5 separate regions of the Homo sapiens genome follow, and regions 1, 3, 4 and 5 are each linked to region 2. Evidence: promoter capture Hi-C in 16 types of primary human blood cells and fetal thymus (Javierre and others, 2016). All regions are on one chromosome and are shown on one strand. The core of a region is centred on a gene start or on the middle of the fragment in contact, and the rest is flanking DNA. Distances in the headings are between cores, read along the strand shown.

Evidence for each region. The method cuts DNA at HindIII sites, captures the fragments that hold promoters and counts their contacts. A CHiCAGO score of 5 or more calls a contact.
Region 1: the fragment with the promoter of ZNF324 here is called in contact with the fragment with the promoter of ZNF550 in region 2 in 13 of 17 cell types (total CD8 T cells, non-activated CD4 T cells, neutrophils and 10 more); the score reaches 13.1 in total CD8 T cells.
Region 3: a contact is called between a fragment that was not itself captured here and the fragment with the promoter of ZNF550 in region 2, in 4 of 17 cell types (naive CD4 T cells, naive CD8 T cells, total CD8 T cells and 1 more). The highest score is 6.7, in naive CD4 T cells.
Region 4: the fragment with the promoter of ZNF497 here is called in contact with the fragment with the promoter of ZNF550 in region 2 in 9 of 17 cell types (total CD8 T cells, non-activated CD4 T cells, naive CD4 T cells and 6 more); the score reaches 15.0 in total CD8 T cells.
Region 5: a contact is called between the fragment with the promoter of ZNF835 here and the fragment with the promoter of ZNF550 in region 2, in 9 of 17 cell types (neutrophils, monocytes, naive B cells and 6 more). The highest score is 9.4, in neutrophils.

The regions. Positions count from the first base shown.
Region 1 is chr19:58,465,764-58,468,463 of GRCh38, forward strand. ZNF324 (zinc finger protein 324) reads left to right here and starts at 1,317. Exons shown (of 4, transcript NM_014347.3): 1 at 1,317-1,420. RefSeq lists enhancers at 1,048-1,664, 1,665-2,279, 2,698-2,700 and silencers at 1,307-1,356, 1,437-1,566. The HindIII fragment of the contact is 6,014 bases long and covers 1-2,700 here.
Region 2 is chr19:57,558,412-57,561,154 of GRCh38, forward strand. It overlaps ZNF550 (zinc finger protein 550), which reads right to left and starts at 1,452. Exons shown (of 4, transcript NM_001397372.1): 1 at 1,245-1,452. The coding sequence starts at 1,271. It overlaps LOC124904781 (a long non-coding RNA gene), which reads left to right and starts at 1,531. Exons shown (of 2, transcript XR_007067357.1): 1 at 1,531-1,707. RefSeq lists enhancers at 494-573, 718-1,582, 1,024-1,073, 1,560-2,743, 1,704-1,813. The HindIII fragment of the contact is 1,240 bases long and covers 839-2,078 here.
Region 3 is chr19:58,129,591-58,132,290 of GRCh38, forward strand. The region is part of intron 3 of ZNF329 (zinc finger protein 329); the gene reads right to left. Among named protein-coding and RNA genes, the nearest start is that of ZNF329, 20 kb to the right of the region's middle. The HindIII fragment of the contact is 2,632 bases long and covers 1-2,590 here.
Region 4 is chr19:58,361,400-58,364,099 of GRCh38, forward strand. It overlaps ZNF497 (zinc finger protein 497), which reads right to left and starts at 1,352. Exons shown (of 3, transcript NM_198458.3): 1 at 1,278-1,352. ZNF497-AS1 (ZNF497 antisense RNA 1) reads left to right here and starts at 1,227. Exons shown (of 3, transcript NR_136527.1): 1 at 1,227-1,353. It also overlaps the pseudogene RNA5SP473. RefSeq lists enhancers at 639-1,187, 917-1,046. The HindIII fragment of the contact is 6,825 bases long and covers 1-2,700 here.
Region 5 is chr19:56,670,493-56,673,192 of GRCh38, forward strand. It overlaps ZNF835 (zinc finger protein 835), which reads right to left and starts at 1,265. Exons shown (of 2, transcript NM_001005850.3): 1 at 1,084-1,265. LOC105372473 (a long non-coding RNA gene) reads left to right here and starts at 1,487. Exons shown (of 4, transcript XR_936110.4): 1 at 1,487-1,939. The HindIII fragment of the contact is 4,177 bases long and covers 1-1,359 here.

The DNA.
Region 1 (2,700 bases), core at 67-2,566, 910 kb after region 2:
ATTCTTTCAAAGTAGCAAAATTTATATTAAAACATTCCAAACATGATGAGCTCCCTTGCTCTACAAGGATTTACAAGTAGAATCAATTAGGTGGACAGTTATAGCTGACAGTTGACAGAGAGATAGTTATAGATGGAGGTAGGTATAGAGGGAGGGAGGCAAAAAGAGTTAAGGAACTGGACAGCTGAGAACTGTCTACAGGTTCCAAAAACAAGACAAAGAACCTTTTATTATCTGCCAAACAAGACAGTCTACATTGAGACTGCTCTGCCTTTCGTTTTTATGTGTCAAAGACACTTAAATTGGCCTGTAATCCCAGCACTTTGGGAGAACGAGGTGGGCGGATCACCTGAGGTCAGGAGTTCAAGACCAGCCTGGCCAACATGGTGAAACTCCATCTCTACTAAAAAATACAAAAATTAGCCAGGCATGGTGGCGCACACCTGTGGTCCCAGCTACTACGGAGGCTGAGGCGGGGGGATCACTTGAACCTGAAGGCAGAGGTTGCAGTGAGCCGAGATTGTGCCACTGCACTCCAGCACGGGCAACAGAACAAAGACCCTGTTAAAAAAAAAAAAAAAAAACTTAAATGAGTCCCAAGAAAAAAGGAAAAAAGAATGAATATTGTGATGTGTGGGGCAAGACAAGATCTAGATGGTCTAAGGACAAGCAAATCTGGGGAATTAACTTCTGCCCATCCAAATTACAAGGAAAACAGATGCTTTGGGCAAGTGTCGAGGAACAGTCTCATACTTAAGACAAATGTAGGCTTACGGGCTGAGAATTCTTGGTGTAAAGGTTGAAAACGGACCTTAAACCTTTACGGGACATTGACACAGAGAGGTCAAACCCGCGCCCAGGACGCACAGTCAGTGAGAGGCAGAGCTGGGAAGGGAACCCGGAGCTCCAGGCATCGGCTCCTCCACCTCCACCTGCGCTACCCGGTGCATTTTCTCCTCCGTGCTCACTGCTGGTGTTGCCTCTTGGAACCTCGGCAGTTTCTGCTTTCGCACCTGCAGGGTTTAGTCTCCGGGACTGCTTGGGAGGACACCTGGAATGCCGAAGGCAGGACTACACACCGGGCGAATCCACCAGCGCCACCAAGCCCTTGAAAACCCGAGGCCGCCGCGCGACTCCATTTCCCAGCGCCCCGCGCGGCAGGGGCTTGGACGTTGCCAAGGAGACCGGTAGTGGCCCCGCCTCCACGCAGGGAAACAGGCGGGAACCACGTGACCCGGAAGGCTGTACGCAAGCGTCCGCGGCGCGCACTGGGCCAATGAGAACCGAAGGGCTGGACTTCCGGCGGTGGGACTGTCACTTCGCCGCCCGCGTCAGGCCACACCGGTGGTCTGGGCTGGGGACCGCGGGTCGGGTCCGGTTTCCAGGGGGTTCCTGGTGCTCGAGGCTGGCGGCGAGGAAGGTACTGGCTGAGGGCCCGCGTCGGGCCCGCCCTGCGCACGCGTCGTGATCAAGGGCGCCGGCCGCCGGCCGCGCCCCCAAGCCTCTGTTTCTCAGAGTGCGTCGTGGGCGTCCAGGGGACTGTCGGGCCGCGGCGGGAGCCATGCGCTCTCCCACCGTGCGGCAGCCCAGGAGGCTGCGCGCTGGGCGTTCCACGTCCATGATGGCCGGGGAGACTGAGGCGCGGGGCGGCCCCGGGACGCTGCTGGCGGGGAAAGGCTGGGTGGTCCACGCCTTTCTTCCCTCCCAGCTGCGGGTTCCGCTGGCGGCGGTGGCGCTGACAAGCCCGCGTCGGGGAAGCAGGGGAGTCCCTGCTCACACAGACCGCGCCCTCACGGAGGGAGGCCGCTTCCTAGACCTCGCCTAGTCGTCTTTCCTCTCCCTGCCCTGGGGGGGTTGCGGGGGTCAGTGCAAACTCCTGCGTCCAGGGCACTGGTGAGCTCCCGAGTTCGGGCAGCCAGGGGGCTGAGGTCCCGAAGGAGGCTCCGAGGGGAGAGTCCTGCGTGTGCAAAACCTGGGAGGGGAGCCGAAGCCCAGGTGCTTCTGGGACTGAGCTCTCTCGATGTGGAGCTGGAGTAGAGGGGATGTGTGCGGCTGCAGTATCAGGCGAGGGAGTGGGCTTTATCTCGAGGGCGTCGGGAGACATAGAAGTTTTGAACAGAATCAGGACATCCTCTGAGGACTTTAAAACGGTTCCACCGTTTGTTGCGTGGAGAACAGACATGCAGGGGTGTCGGCATGAAGGGAAGAACCGACTGCCACAGTCTGGGCAGCAGTGGAGGTGGGCGACCAGGTGAATTCTGGTGGATCTGCGGATGCATCAGGTGTGGGCTGTTTGAAGAACTAAGTACCCCATGTTGTTCAGCCTGAGCGCCTGGAAGAAGAGAGCTGCTGTAGATAGAAAGGAGAATTGAAAGGAAAGCAGGTTTCCTTCAGGGGAAAGATCAAGAGTCTGGGATGTCCCAGGTTGGTCATGTCACTGGACCTGACGTTGTTGGCGTCCTGGGCTGTGGACAGGGCCTATGAATTGGACTGAGGAATGGGCAGGGACTCAGCCAGGTGTGGGCAGTTATGGCTTGAGGGTAAAGAAGACCAGCTGGGATGCCTGGGGCTATTGGGAAGAGCCTAGCACCTAACTGAGGAGGGGAGGGTGGCAACAGAGAGGGGAAGAAAGGGGACACCGGGTGAAAGGAGGAAGGGATTGAGTTCCTCTGTGTTCACAGGTTGTTGAGGCTGCTCCCC
Region 2 (2,743 bases), core at 202-2,701:
ATTGGAAATGTGATGAGAGTCCCTATAAGAGAGGCCTATTCAATCATCAACCATTTATTAAGTACAATAAATGTACTTAAGCCTGGCTGTTCTGGGTCTTGGGAGAGGGAAGCAACAGGCACTCACATTCCAGGGTTGGAAAAAGATCCTAAACAGGCAACTAAATAAATGAGTAAGGCAATGTCAGATGGCCTTAAAGATTCAGATGACAAGAAAACAGAGCAAGGAGACCAAAGAGACTCTGGTCAGCTTTAAACGGTGCAACAGACGAGACCTCTTTAAGCAGCGGACACCAGAGGGAGTCAGAAATAAAGCAAAGGAGGGAGAGGTGGATGAGAAATTAACAACTACGACAGGAGCTGACAGTAATCTGGGCTATCATGAAAGTAATCAGAGTGACTGCTAGAGAGTAACCCTGGGCCTCATGTGTTATCTCCAAAGGGACACTACATCCTGCATACCATCGCCACTGAACATTTTAATGGACTCGTTTTTCACCTGTAACTAAATGTCTTAAACAGGAAAATATACTGTTAGTTGCAACCCAGCGTCCCTTGCCCTAAACTGAAAGACAAATTCCTCAGCCTGCCCTACCACCTTTTCTGCCCTGGCATAGCAGCAACCGCAGAAACGCTCCTCCCACCTCTTTCAGCCGCTGCCCTTCGTGTTGTAGAGACAGGAGGCCAAGGAGGCCAGAGGGTCAGACTCCTGCTGGGGTTGAGTCTCCAAACCTAGCACAGGCCCAGGGAGCAGCTCCGGAAACAACATCCTGAGCGACGTCCCCGGACCGTGCTGTGCACTGAGACGGACACACACACATCACCCAGGGAGCCGTTCAAGCTTCCTCAACCCCGGGGGGGGGAAGAGTAAATATTTCTACTTTGCGCGCGCAAAAATGAAGGACGAGGACAGTAACGGGACTTGTTCAAGGTCGCAGGCCCGAGAAAGGACATGGTTGGAAGAGCCACGAGGAGGACTGCGGTCGCTCCTCTCACCTGTGAGGGGTTCCGGGACCCTAAAAGCCCTATTTCATACCACAACGCCGCGCACCCCAGAAACGGGGACGCTCCCCACGCCACCGCGGGCCTGCATTCCGGACCCGGGACCGCGCGACCCCCTTCTAGGCCTCTAAGAAGCAACGGCAGGGACTGCACTGAGGACGACCCTGAAACGCCGTCCTTCCGCTCGTCGGGCCCGGGACACTGAGGCCGGGTGGCCGCGGGGAGCCGAGCCAGTCTGCTCACCTGCGCTGCGTCCTTCGTCTCCGCCATCCGACCGTTGGCAGGACGAGGCCGCGTGGGGCAGCTCCCACGGGCTCAAAACCCTACCCCGGGTCCTACAACGGTGCGGAGGTGAGCCCCAGTCGCCCTACCATCCTTCCCAGCACAGTTCTGAGAGCGCGGACCAACACGCCCCACCACAAACGTCCACGCCAGCGAGGCCGGAAGTCCCGCCCCTGTGTCGCGGTCGCCTGCCACGCCTTTTCCTGCGCCGGCCCACTGCCTTCTAGGTAATGTAGTCTTGTCCCGTAAGAGGCCAGGCTTGGCTCTTTTTCCTTTTTTATTATGCACACCATGTTTCTGTATATCTCAGATGATCTTAGCGGAGCAAGTGTACACACTGGATTGTAAATTTTTAAAACTTCCTATTATTCGGATGCCTCAACGTCCCTACAAGCAGGCTGTGAGCACTCGCCCAGGCACCCAGGTAAACGAGTTTGATAAAGGGGGCCCTGCCACGAGGTTCCCCGCTTGCCTCCTCTGAGTGACCCAGTGACATTCCCATGTACCAGTAAAATCTTACGCCTGGTTACTGCGTCCTCCTCCACCCTGACGCCAGGCACTGTCCCTGGGACTGGCGTGGATCTGGACCCCCGCTTCCCGCGTGGAGCCATTCCCGGGACATGCTCGTGGGGTTCCGTCTGTGGGACGTCTGCCTCCTCTGTGTGGACTGGTGTTGCCCAGGGCTCAGGAAGGTCTCCAGGGGCCGTGAGTCCCCGCCCGCTTCCGGAGTCCAGCTTCGTGACACCATCGTGAGAAAGAATGCAGGGATGAGTCAAAATGAAGCCAAAGGCAAGAAGCTTTTATTGGGAAGAAAAAGTACACATTTTTGAGAAGAGTGTACTTTTCCCAAGAGAAGAGGGAAATGCGGACGTACGAGGGAGAGCGGGTCATGCACAATGGAGTTTGGGTTTCTAATTTTATGGGCTCTTCTAATTAGGGGGTGGGATAATCATGAGGTTTTTCTAGGAAAAGGTGGGAATTTCTTAGAATTGGGGTGCCAACCATTTTTATACTAAATGTGGGCGTGCTTGGATTGGCCTGGCACTGGTGGGTGTGTGATTTAATGTGGCAATGAGTGTATAATTAGGTCTGGGGTAGGAAATGGGTCAAATCTAGCGTCATGGGACAGCCTAGCCCCAATCCTGTTTGTTAAGGTCTCATCAGCCCAGTCTTCTTGTTGGAGTAGCTAATTTTAACAGCTTGATGTTTTCCCCCTTCTCCTGTGACCACACAGCATTCCTATTTTGTGGGTGTTTCTTTAATTAGAGAGTGGAATAATTATTAGGTATTCTGGAAAAGGAGGGAAATTCAGGGACCCACCTGGTTACTGCCCCCTTTCTCTCTTATTTGGCTTTGCCCAGAAGAGTCATGGACATGTCATCCTGACTGGGATTTTGGCCATTCTTTCTCTTATTTTGGGTTTTCTGTTATCCTATGGTTTCTTTGCCTAGTTCTTGTTT
Region 3 (2,700 bases), core at 25-2,524, 570 kb after region 2:
TGTAAAGATGTGTATTTTTTTACTTGTTTTCTCTTTTAAATTCAAATTTATACAAGGAAGAGGTAAAATCGTAGCCAAGGAATGGAACCAAGAACAGATTCAAAAAGAGCCATGTAGCATTTTCATCTTCCTAGAGAGCAGGCAGGAGGAATGGACCTCGGGATAAATCATCACCAAAAGGATTAGTTTGAGATGTGAGAGACCAGAGGCCAAGCATCCCTGCTCCCCCTAGAATTCCATCCCAGCCACTGCATTCTTGTCCCTGTCACACACTGCCCATCAGTACACATTTCCAAAGCTCTGACTTCACAATGAGCTTACAACAGCACTGAAGGAACAGTTCTCACCCCAGCTCTGTCATCAAAGTTCTGCATTCATGGATAGGACAAAGCACAGGCTTGGTGACCTAAAAGTTCTGGGTCTAAGTCTTAGAACTGTCAATGACCTGGCGGGGCACAGTGGTTCACTCCTGTAATCCCAGCACTTTGGGAAGTGGAGGCAGGTGGATCATTTGAAGTCAGGAGTTCAAGACCAGCCTGACCAACATGGTGAAACACCGTCTCTACTAAAAATACAAAAAAAATCAGCCAGGCGTGGTGGCACATGCCTGTAGTCCCAGCTACTCTGGAGGCTGAGGCAGGAGAATCACTTCAACCTGGTAGGCAGAGGTTGCAGTGAGCTGAGATCACACCACTGCACTCCAGCCTACGCGGCAGAGTGAGACTCCATCTCAAAAAACAAAACAAAACAAAAACTGTCAAAGACTGCCCTGCATGGTTGTTATAAAAACTGGATCATGTCGGCCAGGCGCGGTGGTCACGCCTGTAATCCCAGCACTTTGGGAGGCCGAGGTGGGCAGATCACAAGGTCAGGAGATTGAGACCATCCTGGCTAACGTGGTGAAACCCCGTCTCTACTAAAAAAATACAAACAATTAGCCAGGCGTGGTGGCGGGCGCCTGTAGTCCCAGCTACTCGGGAGGCTGAGGCAGGAGAATGGCGCGAACCCGGGAGGCGGAGCTTGCAGTGAGCCAAGATCGTGCCACTGCACTCCAGCCTGGGCCACAGAGCAAGACTCCGTCTCAAAAAAAAAAAAAAAAAAAAACTGGATCATGTACAAAGCAGTCTCCAAGGCTAGGGGATGAAGGGCATTCTGTAAATGGTTGCATGTGTCTTCATGCATATCAATCTTCCTGTCACCATCCTTGTCCATTCAGACTTCACAATATTAAGACAACTGGTTGTCCATTCATTCGTTCATTCATTTGGTGGGATCGGGTCTCGCTCTGTCATTCAGGCTGAAGTGCAGTGGTGTGATCTTGGTTCACTGAAGCCTCAATCTCAAAAACTTCAAGCAATTATCCCACCTCAGCCTCCCAAAATGCTGCAAATACAGGGATGAGCCATTGTGCCCAGCCTTCTTTCTATTTTTTAAGGTAAAATGAAAATAGACCCTTGCCTCAGAATACATACATACATATATGTCTACATTCTAGGCAATTTAAATATATATACATGTATATGTGTATATGTGTGTGTGTGTGTGTGTGTGCGCGTGTATTTACATTTCAGAAGGATACAGGCTGCAACATAAAGTCAAAGTTTAAATAATGTAGTATGCCTTCATAAGTGTGGCAGACTTTGATCAACAAAACTTAACCAAAAAACCATATGGCCAAGCATTGGGGGTCATGCCTGTAATCCCAGCACTCTGGGAGGCTGAAGTGGGAGTTATCACTTGAGCCCACACAGAAGGCTGAGGCTGCAGTGAGCTGTAATTGTGCCACTGCATTCCAGATTGGGCAAAAGAGACCATGTCTTAAAAACAAAAAACAAAAACCAAAAAATAAAAAACAGACAAGGATTAAGAAGTCTGATATCAGCATTCAAATTTTCCATCCAATAAAAGACACAATAAGAGACAAAATGCAAGTGGCAGATAGGGAGAAAATAGGACTTAAAAGCACAAAGAATTATTGCCCAAGAGCTATAGAGGATTCTTACAGAGAGAAAATAAGATTTAAAAGCACAAAGAATTACTGCCCAAGAACTACAGAGGATTCTTACAGAACAGCACATAAAAAGAAAAAAAATGGGCAAAGTAATCAAAGAGCACTTCGTGAAGGGAAAATAGAAATGTCCTGAAAACATTGGCTGGGAGCAGTGGGTCACGCCTGTAATCCCAGCACTTTGGGAGGCTGAGGCAGGTGGACCACAAGGTCAGGAGATCGAGACCATCCTGGCTGACACGGTGAAACCCCGTCTCTATTAAAAATACAAAAAATTAGCCAGGCGTGGTGGCGGGCGCCTGTAGTCCCAGCTACTTGGGAGGCTGAGGCAGGAGAATGGCATGAACCCGGGAGGCAGAGCTTGCAGTGAGCCGCGATAGCGCCACTGCACTCCAGCCTGGGCAACAGGGCGAGACTCTGCCTCAAAAAAAAAAAAAAAAGAAAGAAAAAAAAGAAATGTCCTGAAAACATCAATATTTATTTTCTCATTCTATCATTCAGGCAATTCCAAACTGCGACTTTAAGAACACAAAATATACACATTTCACGTGAGTAAAAATAAAATGAAGTACAATAATATAAAGCTTTGGTAGGTCACAAGGGAAGAGGGCTTGGAAAGTGGTCAGCGTGCTTGGCAGGGTACCTTAGTGGCAGCTGTGAAAACATAAACTGGGGGCAGGCGCGGTGGCTCA
Region 4 (2,700 bases), core at 102-2,601, 800 kb after region 2:
AGGTTGGAGTGCAGTGGCGTGATGTGGGCTCACCGCGACCTCCGCCTCCTGGGTACAAGCGATTCTCCTGCCTGAGACTCCCGAGTAGCTGGGATTACAGGCACCAGCCTCCACACCCGCCTAATTTTTGTGTTTTCAGTACAGATGGGGTTTCACCATGTTGCTCAGGCTGGTCTTTAACTCCTGAGCTCAAGGGATCCACCCGCCTTGGCCTCCCAAAGTGCTGGGATTACAGACATGAGCCACCGCACCTGGCCTCTAGTTTTTCAAGATGCCACCTTTAGGGGAATTGGGTAAAGCGTACATAGGGTATGCATTACTTGTTACTGCATGTGAATTTATAATTACCTCAAATCAAAAGTTAAATTTTAAAAAAACGACATCTGATTTCAATAAAAATCCATATTTGTGTATTGAAGTATCAGAAATCCGGGTCCCCCAAGGGCCCATGTTTCTTAAGGCGGAGCCAGGCACCGCTGCCCCTCCATCCTGTGGTGTGCGACCCCGACCCGCCAGCCCCCAGCCGCATCTATCAGGGCTGCCGTCCTGAGTCCGTCCTCGTCGTGGGATAGCATGTGAGCCCCGTAAGGTCCTTCCTGTCGGCCTCACTGCTCCAGCCTCCCCGACGTCCTCACGTCCACGCTGCGTGCCCTTTCTGAGCCTCAACGCCTCCTCCTCACCTCGACATGATCAGAGCCACCTCCCGCGTCAGTCCCAGCGCCCACGCCCCCAACAACGGGCACTTGTCCGACCAGTCACGGGTACTTGTGTCTCCCCCACAACCCCCAAGGCCTAGGCTGGACAAACAAATACGGAGTGGATAAAGGGGAGGAAGCTGCGGCCAGGTGGCGCGAGGCCTGTGCGGGCAGCTCCGGAGGCTGGGAGGCGAGCCCAGCCTGGTGAGCTCCGAAACTACCCGGGGCTGGGGACTGATGAACGAATAAATGAATGTGGGAAGAAATGATGGCGCGGCAGGGCATGAGTGAATGAGTGAAAGAATAAACGAGCAGGAGGAACGATGCCACAGAACTGATCGCCATAAGGCTCGCGTTCACCGAGAGAACAGCAAACGGGAGCCATTTCCGTCCCGACCACGGTCGCCTCTGGCCCGTGCAGGGCCACTTCCGGGCCGCTCTGGACGGCGCGGAGGCCTATCTCTCGGTGGTCCCAGAGGGCCCAGCTCAGGGCCGAGGCCCGTCCTGCCCCGCGCGGCGGGAGTGGTTGGAGCCGGAGGGCGGATCTGTGCCTGGCCGAGGGTGTCCGTCGGCGTCACTCACCGTCCTCGGCCCGCCTCTGCGTCCACTAGGAGCGGCCTGAAAGAGGCCCGCACGCGGGCTCGAGCCGCGTGGAATGGTAGGAGGGCGGGCACCGGGTCTCCTGGGGGCGCGGTTGCATTCGGCAGAGCGGCCCAAGGCGTCGCGTTTCTCCCCACTGCGCCTGCGTAACTATGCCGCGGCTGCGGGCGCGCGCCTTCTGGTTCCCATGGGGACGGCGCCACAGCCAAGCTACTCGGGCGTCCTGCGTTGCCATGGATGCGCTCCGCCCCTTCCTGCACCCGGCCAGCCTCTGCGGCACACACCCAACAGCTACACAGGCGCCTGGGGCTGCCCGGGTCGCGGACGCAAGTCGGGCCAACGTAGCTTCTCCCTGGCGGTCCTCCTCCGGCCCCAGGCCGTCTTTACCACCCTGGAACCTTGCTGAGTTGACGCCACTGAGCTGCGTCTCACACCCACGCGCTGTGGAACACCCACCAAGCTGGAATCCACGCGGTTTTTAAAATAGAGTCGGGGGCCGGGCGCGGTGACTCACGCCTGTAATCCCAGCACTTTGGGAGGTCGAGGCGGGCGGATCACGAGGTCAGGAGATCGAGACCATCCTGGCTAACACGGAGAAACCCCGTCTCTACTAAAAATACAAAAAATTAGCCGGGCGTGGTGGCGGGCGCCTGTAGTCCCAGCTACTCGGGAGGCTGAGGCAGGAGAATCGCTTGAACCTGGGAGGCGGAGCTTGCAGTGAGCCGAGATCGCGACACTGCACTCCAGCCTGGGGCGACAGAACGAGACTCCGTCTCAAAAAAAAAAAAAAAAAATTGAGTCGGGATCTCAGAAGCTAAGCAGGGTCGGGCCTGGTTAGTACTTGGGAGACCGTCTGGGAACACCGAGTGCTGTTGGCTAAAATAAATAAATAAACCGGGCGCGGTGGCTCACGCCTGTAATCCCAGAACTTTGGGAGGCCGAGGCGGGCAGATCACGAGGTCAGGAGTTCGAGACCAGCCTGACCAACATGGTGAAACCCCGTCTCTACTGAAAATACAAAAATTAGGCTTGTTGGCGTGTGCCTATAATCCCAGCTACTCGGGAGGCTGAGGCAGGAGAATCGCTTGAACCGGGGAGGCAGAAGTTACAGTGAGCTGAGGTCGTGCCACTGCACACTCCAGCCTGGGTGACAGAGCAAGACTCCGTCTCAAAAAACAACATAGACCAGATGCTGTAAGCTAAAATAAATGAATAGCTAGAGACGGGGTCTCGCTATATGGCCCAGGCTGGTCTTGAACTTCTGGGCTCAAGTGATCCTCCCACCTTGGCCTCCCAAAGTGCTAGGATTACAGACCCGAGCCACTGCACCCGGCCTCCACGAGCTCTTTTTGTACCAATTTTTCCCAATTTGTACTAGGGAGCTCTCACCTCAGCCCAGGTGGTT
Region 5 (2,700 bases), core at 15-2,514, 890 kb before region 2:
CACTCACACATGCACACAGGGTCCCGGGCACACGTAGCTACACACACACCCAGCCCCACACGTAGCTCCCTGTGTGAAGAGGTGCACAGAGACGCACAAGGTCACACATGCCACCTGCTCCACACAGGCCGGCCATTACTGGGACACACCCACAGGGGATGGCTGGACACATGTGCAGTCACACTCGGTGGATAGAGCTCCAGCATAGCCAAAGCCCACATGTGCAGCGTCTCCATCATGTGCAGATGCACACACTTCAGACAGCACGGCACTCTACAGGCTCGCACAGCCAGGTCACCCATCATTGTGCTGGCAGGCACACGGGCCGAGCCAGCCTACACGGCGGCACACCCAGACATGCACACGTGGGGTCACACACCTCACATCCAGGAGAACTTTCAGACTTGCCCAAAGGCAGCCACACGTGTATGTGACATGCTGTGATATGCAGACACCGCTTCACATGAACGAGCACATAACACACCGATAAAGTGTTACATGCCTTTACCTGCAGTCACCTGCCTGGGCTGGCACCACTGAGTGAGCAGGTGCAGACACAGTGACACTCGGGGACGGGCTCACAGGCAGTCACACACCTGCAAGGCCTGGCACCGCCGAGTGAGCAGGTACAGACACAGTGATGGGCTGGCACCGCCAAGTGAGCAGGGGCAGACGCTGTGACACTCAGGGACGGGCTCACAGGCAGTCACACACCTGCACCTGCTGGTACCGTCGAGTGAGCAGGTGCAGACGCTGTGACACTCAGGGACAGGCTCACAGCCAGTCACACACCTGCACGGCCTGGCACCGCCAAGTGAGCAGGTACAGACACAGTGACGGGCTGGCACCGCCGAGTAAGCAGGTGCAGATGCAGTGACAGGCTCACAGGCAGTCACACACCTGCACCTGCTGGTACCGTCGAGTGACCAGGTGCAGACGCTGTGTTACTCAGGGACGGGCTCACAGGCAGTCACACACCTATACGGGCTGACACCGCTAAGTGAACAGGTGCAGACACAATGGCACTCGGGGACGGGCTCACACGCGGTCACACACCTGCAGGAACACGCGCACACTACACACCGTTGCTCTCGCCTCCCGGTATCACCTTCGAACGCGCTGGCCGGCCCCCTCCTAGCCTGGTGCAGTCGGCTCCGCTTCTACTCAGTCTCGGGTCCTCCTGGGCCAACGCAGACCCTGGTGCCTCCTTCCTTAGACGAGCTAAGGTCAAGACTTCTGCTGCTGCGGAGGAGCCCGCGCACCAGGCCGGGGTGGACTGCGCCTGCGCATCGGGCCCGCCTGGTTCTTAGGAACTACGACTCCCAGGGGGCGCTGCGCGCTCGCCGGCACCGCGACTAAAGCTTGCAAAGCCTGGGTCATCGAAACTACAACTCCCAGAAGGCTAAGCGTCTGCACACGCTAGGTCCGCAGGGCGCTGACCCCTGGGGGCCCGAGGAGCGCCGGGCTGCTGCCCCGAGCCCCGCCCACTACAGCCTCAGTGCATGGCGGTGGGCGCTTCCAGTAACTCAGGGGTGGGACTTTTTTCTTGCTCAGGGGATGAGGCCGAGCCCACAGGCTTAGAAAGAAGGAACTTGAGTCCGGGCACCTGTCATCCCAGCGCTTAGGGAGGCCGAGGCGGGTGGATCACCTGAGGTCAGGAGTTCGAGACCAGCCTGGCCAATATGGCGAAACCCCCGTCTCTACTAAAAATACAAAAATTAGCCGAGCATGGTGGCATGCACTTCCAGCTACTTGGAAGGCTGAGGCGGGAGAATGGCTTGAACCTGGGAGGCGAGGGTTGCAGTGAGCTGAGATCGCACCACTGCACTCCAGCCTGGGTGACAGAGCGAGACTTCGTCTCAAAAAAAAAGAAGAAGAAAGAAGGAAGCTGAGGTTCAGACAGGCTAAGTCCCTACTGCAGGCTGCGGAATCTAAAAAGGTAGGTGCCAGGGTTTGCAACCCACACTTTTATTTTGGTCTCAGGTAGCTGATGTCATTCCAGTCTATGGCAAAGAAGGTGGCAAATCCATTAACATAGATGAAGAATTTCATTTTACTTTTTAGTTTTATTTATTTATTTATTTTTATTATGTATCATGCTTTTAATACAAACTTTAAAAAATCTGGAACAATAGAAACTGTACAGATTTGATCAATCTTTTTGTTTTGTTTTTAAACTAAAATCTCTAAACACACCAATGTCCTATTCCAAAATATTGCACAACATTCTGAATACAAAACCCTTGATTGTATTCCTCCTTCACTGAAGAAAAAACTTCATGACCCTGCTCCCCGGGCTCCTCTCCAGGCTTGCGTCAATGCCCCCTTCCCATCCCTAGGGAGAAAACTAGAGAATCTATAACTCACTGCATTGAGAAAAAGACATCATTCTGGACTAACAGTTTCCATTCTTCAGAAGATAATCCACCTTTTGATTTGTTCCTGGGAAACAGGGATAGATAGAGGATGGGGAAAGGGGAGAAAAGGTTTTATTTCTCCTCTTTTTTTTTTAAAGTTTGTTTTTCCTGAAAAAATATGTTTCTCTCATCTTTTTAAGAAAAAATCTTGAAAAGAAAAAAATTGTTTTTACGTTAGAAATATACATATATTATATATACCTCTTACATTTTACAAATGTAGCAAATTATTCAATACAAACGGACACCAAAAAATGTAAAAAATAAAAAAAAGTTTTCCTAA